2 separate regions of the Homo sapiens genome follow, and region 2 is linked to region 1. The links are contacts of gene promoters, found by promoter capture Hi-C in blood cells and fetal thymus (Javierre and others, 2016). All regions are on one chromosome and are shown on one strand. The core of a region is centred on a gene start or on the middle of the fragment in contact, and the rest is flanking DNA. Distances in the headings are between cores, read along the strand shown. Region 1 holds the start of LINC02873 (long intergenic non-protein coding RNA 2873). Region 2 has its middle 4.2 kb from the start of ADAMTS15.

The links. Contacts are between HindIII fragments. The CHiCAGO score rates a contact against its expected background, and 5 or more counts as called.
Region 2: a contact is called between a fragment that was not itself captured here and the fragment with the promoter of LINC02873 in region 1, in 2 of 17 cell types (M0 macrophages and M1 macrophages). The highest score is 6.4, in M0 macrophages.

Annotation. Positions count from the first base shown.
Region 1 is chr11:130,670,976-130,674,782 of GRCh38, forward strand. It overlaps LINC02873 (long intergenic non-protein coding RNA 2873), which reads left to right and starts at 1,981. Exons shown (of 3, transcript NR_164144.1): 1 at 1,981-2,213. The HindIII fragment of the contact is 8,610 bases long and covers 1-3,807 here.
Region 2 is chr11:130,442,335-130,446,587 of GRCh38, forward strand. No RefSeq gene overlaps it. Among named protein-coding and RNA genes, the nearest start is that of ADAMTS15, 4.2 kb to the right of the region's middle. The HindIII fragment of the contact is 3,856 bases long and covers 83-3,938 here.

The DNA.
Region 1 (3,807 bases), core at 731-3,230:
TCAGATGCCTCGCTTTGTGCTACTGTGTGTTTCTGTCACTCTCTAGGTTTTCCCAACATTTTGGGGCAGATGATGCTTTTTGGTTGGGTCTGTTCTGCGCCTTGTAAGTTGTTTAGAAGCTGGTCTCCCCAAGATGCCACTAGCACCCTTCCCCCAGTTGCAACACTCAAAAATGTCTTCAGATATTATCAATGTCCCCTTAAGGAACAAGATAGCCCTGGTTGAGAATGACCGCTGTAGATGACAGATGTTCATTGAATGACTGAAGGACCTTAGTTCTGGGATTGCTGCAGAACTGATCAGCAACAAAGCAGCATATAAATTCAGGAAAGTGCTCACGTCCTTTTTAGAACAGTATCTCCATCCTGTAAAATATATTTCAGTGGATTTTTATTTTGGCTCAGTGCTAATAATCTAGGAAGCTGTTTTTACTGCCTACAGGAGAAGAGAGTTAGTGGTATTTTATATAACTTACTCTGTCTCCCCTTCACCTCCATTTGCCATCTGCCAAAATCTTTGGCCCTCAGAGTGGGAAAAATACACTCTACCAGCCAACTGAGATCTACCAAGTGCATCATGGCCAAGTAAATATTGAACTCCCTGCTCCTGACGTTTTTGTGAGAATTGGTTTATATAAGGGGCAGAGCTGTGGAGTGAGGAGGGATGGGTTTGAAGTGCAATTAGACTAGCATCCCTTCCTATTTAACAGTCTTTCTGTACCCCATGAAAGTAAACTCACCAAACTTCTAGGTGGGAACCACTTTCCATGTCTCTGCTATCTATGGGAACTTTACTTATTTGTTTAATAAATATTTTTGGGCACCTAATATGTGTCAGACACTGGCTTAAATACTGGTCAATATGCATATGTTCACGTGATTTGCCAAAAAATCAGTTTCATTTATACGGTTCTTGGCCCCACCTTGAGCTCCATGCTGGGCTGAATCCTCCCTGTCATCCAGTTTATGGCTCCCACAATTTGAGAAAAGGTTGGGAGGTGATTCAGAGACAAAGAAGTGGTTAAAAGGCTGGCTGTGTCTGTTGAGGAATTACAGAGAACACCCACTGGGGCTGTCTTCTGAGGGAGAATCAGCATGAGGTGCATGTCTCATCTAGAAAAAGGGTCTCATACAGATTTTCAGAGCTTGGTTCTCCAAGTCCACGCGGCATAGAGAAGTGTCAGGCGTGAGGGAAACAGGTGAGACGTGGCAGAGCACTTCCTGACATACCTGCTGTCTCCCACCGAGTGAGGGGTGGTTCCCGGACCCACCCTGTGACCGGGCACTGGCTGCCTTGCCATGTGTGTGCTGGCACCTTGGGCTTCAGGGCCTGGGGAATTGTCATGGCAAATCCCTACCTGATAAAACTGCTGGGGGGAAAACAGGCTTTGATGCACATTCCCAGGACTCACTGCTGAGGATTGTGATTTTTTCCTGTGAGCTGTTGGCAGAAGCAGGCTCTATGACTAACCTCAGAAGGGCAAGGGAGCTTTCTGTTAACTGATCGCCTGCAGAGGATCAGAGAGGAATTCCTGCTGGACTCCCTGCTCTGGTCCACCCTGGCCTCGTTTTCCATCTCTGGATCCTTCCAGCCGTGCAAACATACACAGTGTTGCCATGGCGACTCTGGGACAGACACATGCATGAGAGAAAAGCGTGAGGCAAAATCTCTCCTCTGATGATTTGCTGGGAGGGAAGGAGGCCTTGAACAGGTTTCAAAAGCACCTTGTTTCACCCCCTGATTTTCACATGAGAGCGGCTACCCCAGCCATAAACACAGTGGCCTCTTTTCTTCTGCTTTGCTTGCTGAGGCGACTGCAGCTCTGGGAGACCTGAAGAGGCTCCAGGATGAAAGAGCCTCCCACCCTTAAACCCACCCATAGAATGGGTTGCCAGTCATCAGGTGGGGACACCATTGGATGGTGGATGATCAGGGCTGTCCCTGGTTATTAAACTCATTATGCTTTCACCAGGACCCCTCACTTGTCCTTGTGAGTTTCTGACATGGTCCTCCTCTGTCTCTTCCTCGCCAGCTTGGCTGCCACCCCTCGGGCTGGGGTCACTGGGGCATGGCCCACCAGCGGCCTCTCCATTCTGGCCCAGCTCCAGCCGTCCTGTGAGCTCAGGTGGACTCAGCTTTCCAGGTCATCTTGGAGGGATCTGGTCATGACCACATCACTCTGGAGTCTGGCTTATTTCCAGCATTTTTCCCAGGTGAAATCAGGCTTAAATGAATATTATGCAGTGACAGGAAAAACAGCTGCTGCCTGAAGAACACACACAGCAGAAGAGAAATGATGGTGGCGATGGAGGTGGGGTAGATGTTCAGTGGGAGGCCCTGGAGGCGGGGGTGGGGTTGGGGGAACAAGGGTAGGGTTTGTCAGCCCCCACCATGCTGGGTGTGTCCCAAATGCCTGTTCTGACTACTTGGTAATGTTTTTTGGGTGCTGTGCTGAGAAAGCCTGCGAGGCTGCATGAGGTTCCGCAGTAGAGAGCCCTGGTGCTCCATGACCAATGCCTGTGACTGGTGCAGCAAGAGGGACGTTCCTCTGCTGAAATGAATGAGTGCATCTTCCCTGAAGGTGGGTGTGGAGAAAGTCCATCACCAGGGTCCTGTTTGGAGGAGAAGCAGCAGATCTGAATGAATCAACTTTCATCAAGTCACCCCATGGTTCTAGGAGAGCCAGTCCACTTTGTCATCAAGCTCCAAATTCCCTGGCTGGCACTTTCGGCCTCTGCTTTGACCTGGCTCAGAGAAATTTCAGCTCCTGTTCTCAGCATGCCCCTCCTGCTGTGGTAGGGCATGTTGCCTTCTTGGTCCTTGAAGGTAGCACCCAACACCTGTTTCCATGCTCTAGTCCAAGGCCTGCTCTCCTTCCTCTGGCTTCCTGACATCCCTTGCATTGAAGGCCAAGTTCAGGACCATGTCCTCCACACACCTTGTGGACAGCTCCACCCGTGGTGGTCTCTCCTCTTCTGCCCTTTTCTCTGTAGTCTGTGCATTCCAGATCAGCACATGAGCTCTCTCCCCTGGCCTCCTTTGTGTTAGGCACAGATGGGAATCCAGGGCAGAGATGATGTTCTGCCCTTACTACCTTGCAGCAGACAGGATCAGACTTGTGGGACCTGCTTGGTTACCTACCACCTGCTGAGATTCTATTTTCTTTTATAATTTTATATTGTACATGTAGCACACTCTTGGTTGCTTACCCAGTGTGCGTTCCTCTTCTCTGCCTTGGTCACAGAACCCAATTTTATTTCAGTTAGTGTGATGCCCCGTTAAAAGGTATCCTTTCCATTTTATTATAAAGCTAAGAGTTAACATTGAAATGTGAGCAAACATGGACAGAGATGGATGTGTTACACATGTTTTCTCCCAATGTGTAGCTTGTCTTATTTTCTTAACAATGTTTTCCAAAGACTAAAAGCCTTTCATTTTGATGAAGTCCAATTTATCGCTTTTCTCTTTTCTAAGTCATGTTTTCTGTGTCATATCTAAGAAGACTCTGTCTGACCCATAGTCACAAAGATTTTCTTCTAGGGTTTTTGTAGTTTTAGCACTTAGTTGTAGGCCTATGATCCATTTTAAGTTAATGTTTAGATATGGTGTGTGGTAAGCATCAAGGTTCAATTCTTTTTCTTAATGTATTATTGTTATTATTTTTGAGACAGAGTATGGCTTTATTGCCCAGGCTGGAGTGCAGTGGTGCAATCACAGCTCACCGCAGCCTCAACCTCCCATTGTATTTTTGTTTTTGCAGTTGTTCCAGCACGATGTATTAAAATAACCCGGAGTTTAACCTAGCAT
Region 2 (4,253 bases), core at 761-3,260, 230 kb before region 1:
GCTCAAGGTCAAGCTCAATCTTGAAGCTACTCTTTGTTGACGGTGGGAAAAGGGGCATACTGGGAAGAGTAGAGGAGATAGAAGCTTTTTGGCAGGAAAAACTAATTGCTTTCTAAATCCCTAGATAGGAGTTGAGGATTTAGCATCCATCTCATCTCTATTTTAGGCATTCTCCTTCAACCAGCCTAAAAGCTAAAGGTGCAGCTATACGCAGAATAGCCAAGAGCTCCAAAGTAATTTGTCCTGGGGCGTGTGTGTAAATCTATAAAATAAATGATTGAATCAGGGAGCCCTAGATTTCAGGGGGGTAGCTGTTATTTAAGACTGTCTAAGGGGGATTCAGGGTGAAAGGAGGCAGCCTGGAACTATTGTTTGTTGAGTTTGTCCAAGCCACATCAAGACCCTTTGCTCTAATTTCCTAGCATCCAAGAGAACAAATACAGGAGTTAGCACCAGAGAGACTTCTACTTAAACGCTTAGCCCCAGAGTCAAAAACAGAGTGGGTGGCTGAGAGGGAAAAAACAGAGTTAAATATTTCCTCTGAGTAATGAAGAATGAACTCAGGCCAGGGCTGTAATTCATGGGGCCTTAGATGAATCTCCAGCTGCTTCAGCTGTCTCTGCATCTGGGAGAAGACCAGCCAAGAGCTCCAGCAGTTGTGGAAGCCAGTGGATGATGGCAGCTCAGTCATTTAACACTCGCTGGGCCTTCCCGGGGGCTTCCTGAAGCCTGTGCCTTTCTATACTTTGCCTGCTTTGCCCACCTCTGTGGCACAGATTCCAAGAGGAGCAGATTAAACGCATCTGGGATTTTTAGGGATCTTTGGTAAAGAATGATCAAGTCCTAAGCTCAAAACATGATAAATTTGTACATCTGTTTTCATGCTGCTGTGTAAAAACCGATTTAAGTCCTAACATGGTAGGCCAATGATTTAGAATAGCTAATCTGGGGAATTGGGAGACTTTCCTAAGTCATTTCCCTGCCCATTAAAATCTTGCCCAGATCATAGTGCTTGTCCCTCCACCCCGTTTTTCTCCTTAATTATTTTCTCCTGTTTTGAAGAGATCCTCCAGGATGCCCAATTTCACAGGTAGGCAGAAGTCATCCTGTGATGACTTCTGTGATGACTTCATCCCGTGATGAAGAAATCTGCCGGGCGCGATGGCTCATGCCTGTAATCCCAGCACTTTGGGAGGCCAAGGCGAGTGGATCACAAGGTTAGGAGTTCGAGACCAGCCTGGCCAAGATGGTGAAACCCCGTCTTTACTAAAAATACAAAAATTAGCTGGGCATGGTGGCGGGCACCTGTAATCCCAGCTACTTGAGAGGCTGAGGCAGAAGAATCGCTTGAACCCAGGGGGCGGAGGTTGCAGTGAGCTGAGATTGCGCCACTGCACTCTAGCCTGGGCGACAGAGCAAGACTCTGTCTCAAAAAAAAAAAAAAAAAAAAAAAAAAGAAGTGAAATCCAAACCTAATCCTTGTGGCTGCCTCCTTCTGGCCTCTGTGAGTTACCTTTTTGAGTTGATCTTCTACCTGGAACCTGCCGCATCCAGCTGGCTTGACCAGGAAGTTAACACCTCCTCTGGGGACTGTCATGGAGACTAGTATAATAGGAAAGGAAGCCCTCCTTTTGATGAGTTTCCAGACAAGTGTGGCTGCAGCCCAGTCTCGGGAAAAGGGATGAACACACAATTAGCAAAGGGCAAGCGAGTTCAAATGGACTCTGCCTATGCTGGAAATGGGATGCATATATGCCAGAGGAACTAACAAAAAAGAGCAACCAGAGCTGTGTGAGTTAAGTCAAGGGGCTTCCTATAGGAAGTGAGGGTTATATAGGCAGGCATGGATGAGGCTGAGAGGCCATTCTGTATGGGAGGAAAGGCTCACATAAATACGCATGCTGAAAGAACACTTTCTGAGCAGGAGCACTCAAGCTAATGAATTTAGCTAGGGCCAGGCTTTCAGATGAAGAGTAAAGAGAAACGATTTCATGAGATGAGTAGAGAAACTGGCTGGGTAGCCTTAGGCAAGTAACTTCCTTTCTCTGGACCTCAGCTGCCACACCTATGGGATGAAGGTAGTGGGCTAGGTGACTAGGGTACTAGGCTAGGTGACTGGGGTATTGGGTTAGGTGACTAGGGTACTGGGCTAGGTAACTAGGGTGCCAGGCTAAGGTTTTTGTCAGAGAGATGTAGAAATACATAATTATGAGAGAAGTATGTCAGGCACTCGCTCTATGAGAGAGCCACATTTTCATTGTGGAGATGAAGTATCTTGTCCAATATTTTACAGACTGTAAGGGACCAAGCTGGATTAGAATTGGGTTGATTCATTTGCTCAGTATCTTTGGAGCGCCCCTGTGAGCCCAGCACTGTGTCAGGCTCTGGGAGATATAACAGTGAACGAGATGGGGAAGGTCCTGCTCTCATTTTAACGGAGGGAAGTCAGTCAAGAAAAAAAAAAAAGATCTAAGTGAGCAAAATAGGTTTAGATAGAGAGATAGAGGTAAATGCTAGTGGACAAGACAAAACATGCAATCATGATTGTGACTTGGGACTTCTCAGATTGGGCGGTCTGGGAAGGCCCCTCTGAGGGGGCTGTACTTGGGCTGAGACCTGGAGGCTGTGAAGAGGCCAGCCTAGTTGGCGAAGGACAGAAAGGCCAAGCTGGGGGTCTTAGATCTGACAGATGGCTTAGACCCCCAGTCGTCCTCTGGGGGAAGAGCTGCTTTTTAAAAAATTTTCATTTTCATACATTGACAGGGAGTTGCTTTTTATTTTCCAGGGATGTTAAGATCATGGAGGGCAGGAGAAGCGAGAACTCCATGGCGGTTGTGGAGTCCCGTTATGGAAGTGGGACGTGGGAGCCAATGTGAAAGCTCCCGAGCAGAACTGGGAGAGGACACGCCCCAGAAAACTTCAGAAGGTGATGACAGCAATCAGCTTGGAGGGCCTAGCAGAGACTGATAGCACTAGGAGGAGTAATAATAATAGCACATAAGAATATTAGCAGTACTATTCGATAATATTTAAGGAACTTTTAAAATATACCAAGCATTGCCAAACACTTTGGAAGTATAATATTAACTCATTTAGTCCAGGCAGTGGGTAGAATTTGTATCCCCATTTTAATAATGAGAAAAGTGAGGCTTAGAGAGGTACAGTAATTTACCCAAGATTGCACAGCTAAGATCTGGTGGAGGCATGCACACAGGGCCCTCTGACCATGGGCTCTAAATCACTGTACTATGTTCCCTTCCATAGGCCTCAATCAGTCATGTAATATTTGACCTGGTCGTTATCTTAGGTATTATCTAGACCACAGATTTTGGATGCAGTTCTCTGGCTGAAGACCTCTGAGCTAGGATAACCCCTTCTCTTTTGACAGACGAGTCAGAGAATCAGATCAGTGATAGAAGTGGAGTGCCAATCCTGAGTATCACCTCTACTCAAGTGCTCAACATATCCCTAGATCCTCAATTCCCTGGCAAAAGTGATTGGATGGAACCACAGGCTTCCAAGAGGGGACAGTCAAGCATTAAATACGAGAATGCACATATAACTCTTGGTGCAATGTTTAGCACATACTAAGCCTGCAATACATGCTAATCCCTTTGAGCAAATCCACATGGCCAGTTTCTGTGCTCAGGGGTGAGAATAGCTGGGCTGTGATTGGGGCAGGGGGAGCACTAAGTGGGAGGGACTTCCTGTCTCAGGTCCCTGCCATCTTGACTGACATGCTGCAGCCCTTGCCAAAACCCATGGGTCAGAATGAAAGTAAAGTGCCGTTGAAAACCTTGCAATCCACCTTTAAAACTGCCGGGTGTAGTAAAACAATTGCTTGCCCCAAATAAATGACTTATCATTGCTGTTGGTTGTCTGCGTTTCTCTTTAATTATAGGCCCTCTTTGAACGCTCAAACACACAGGGCCTTTGTAAGCTTGAACTCCCTGTCTCACACACAGTCCTCCCATACCCATACACTCTCTTTCATTTGCAGAGTATAAACACCCATCTCTCACTCATTCACATAATGAATTTCAGCTCCTTGTGTCCCAATCAAGGAGAGGCCTCACTGGAATTATGGGCATCTGAGCCATCTTCATGTTCCAAGGCCCCAGGGGGCGCTTCCAAGAGTGGATCCTTTATGGGGAGAAGATAATGGGCAAAAAGTGCTCTTCACTGATGGACCAGTCCCAGCCTTTTCTCTCCTTGGACAATAGAGTTCTTCCCTTGAACAGCCACTTCCCTAA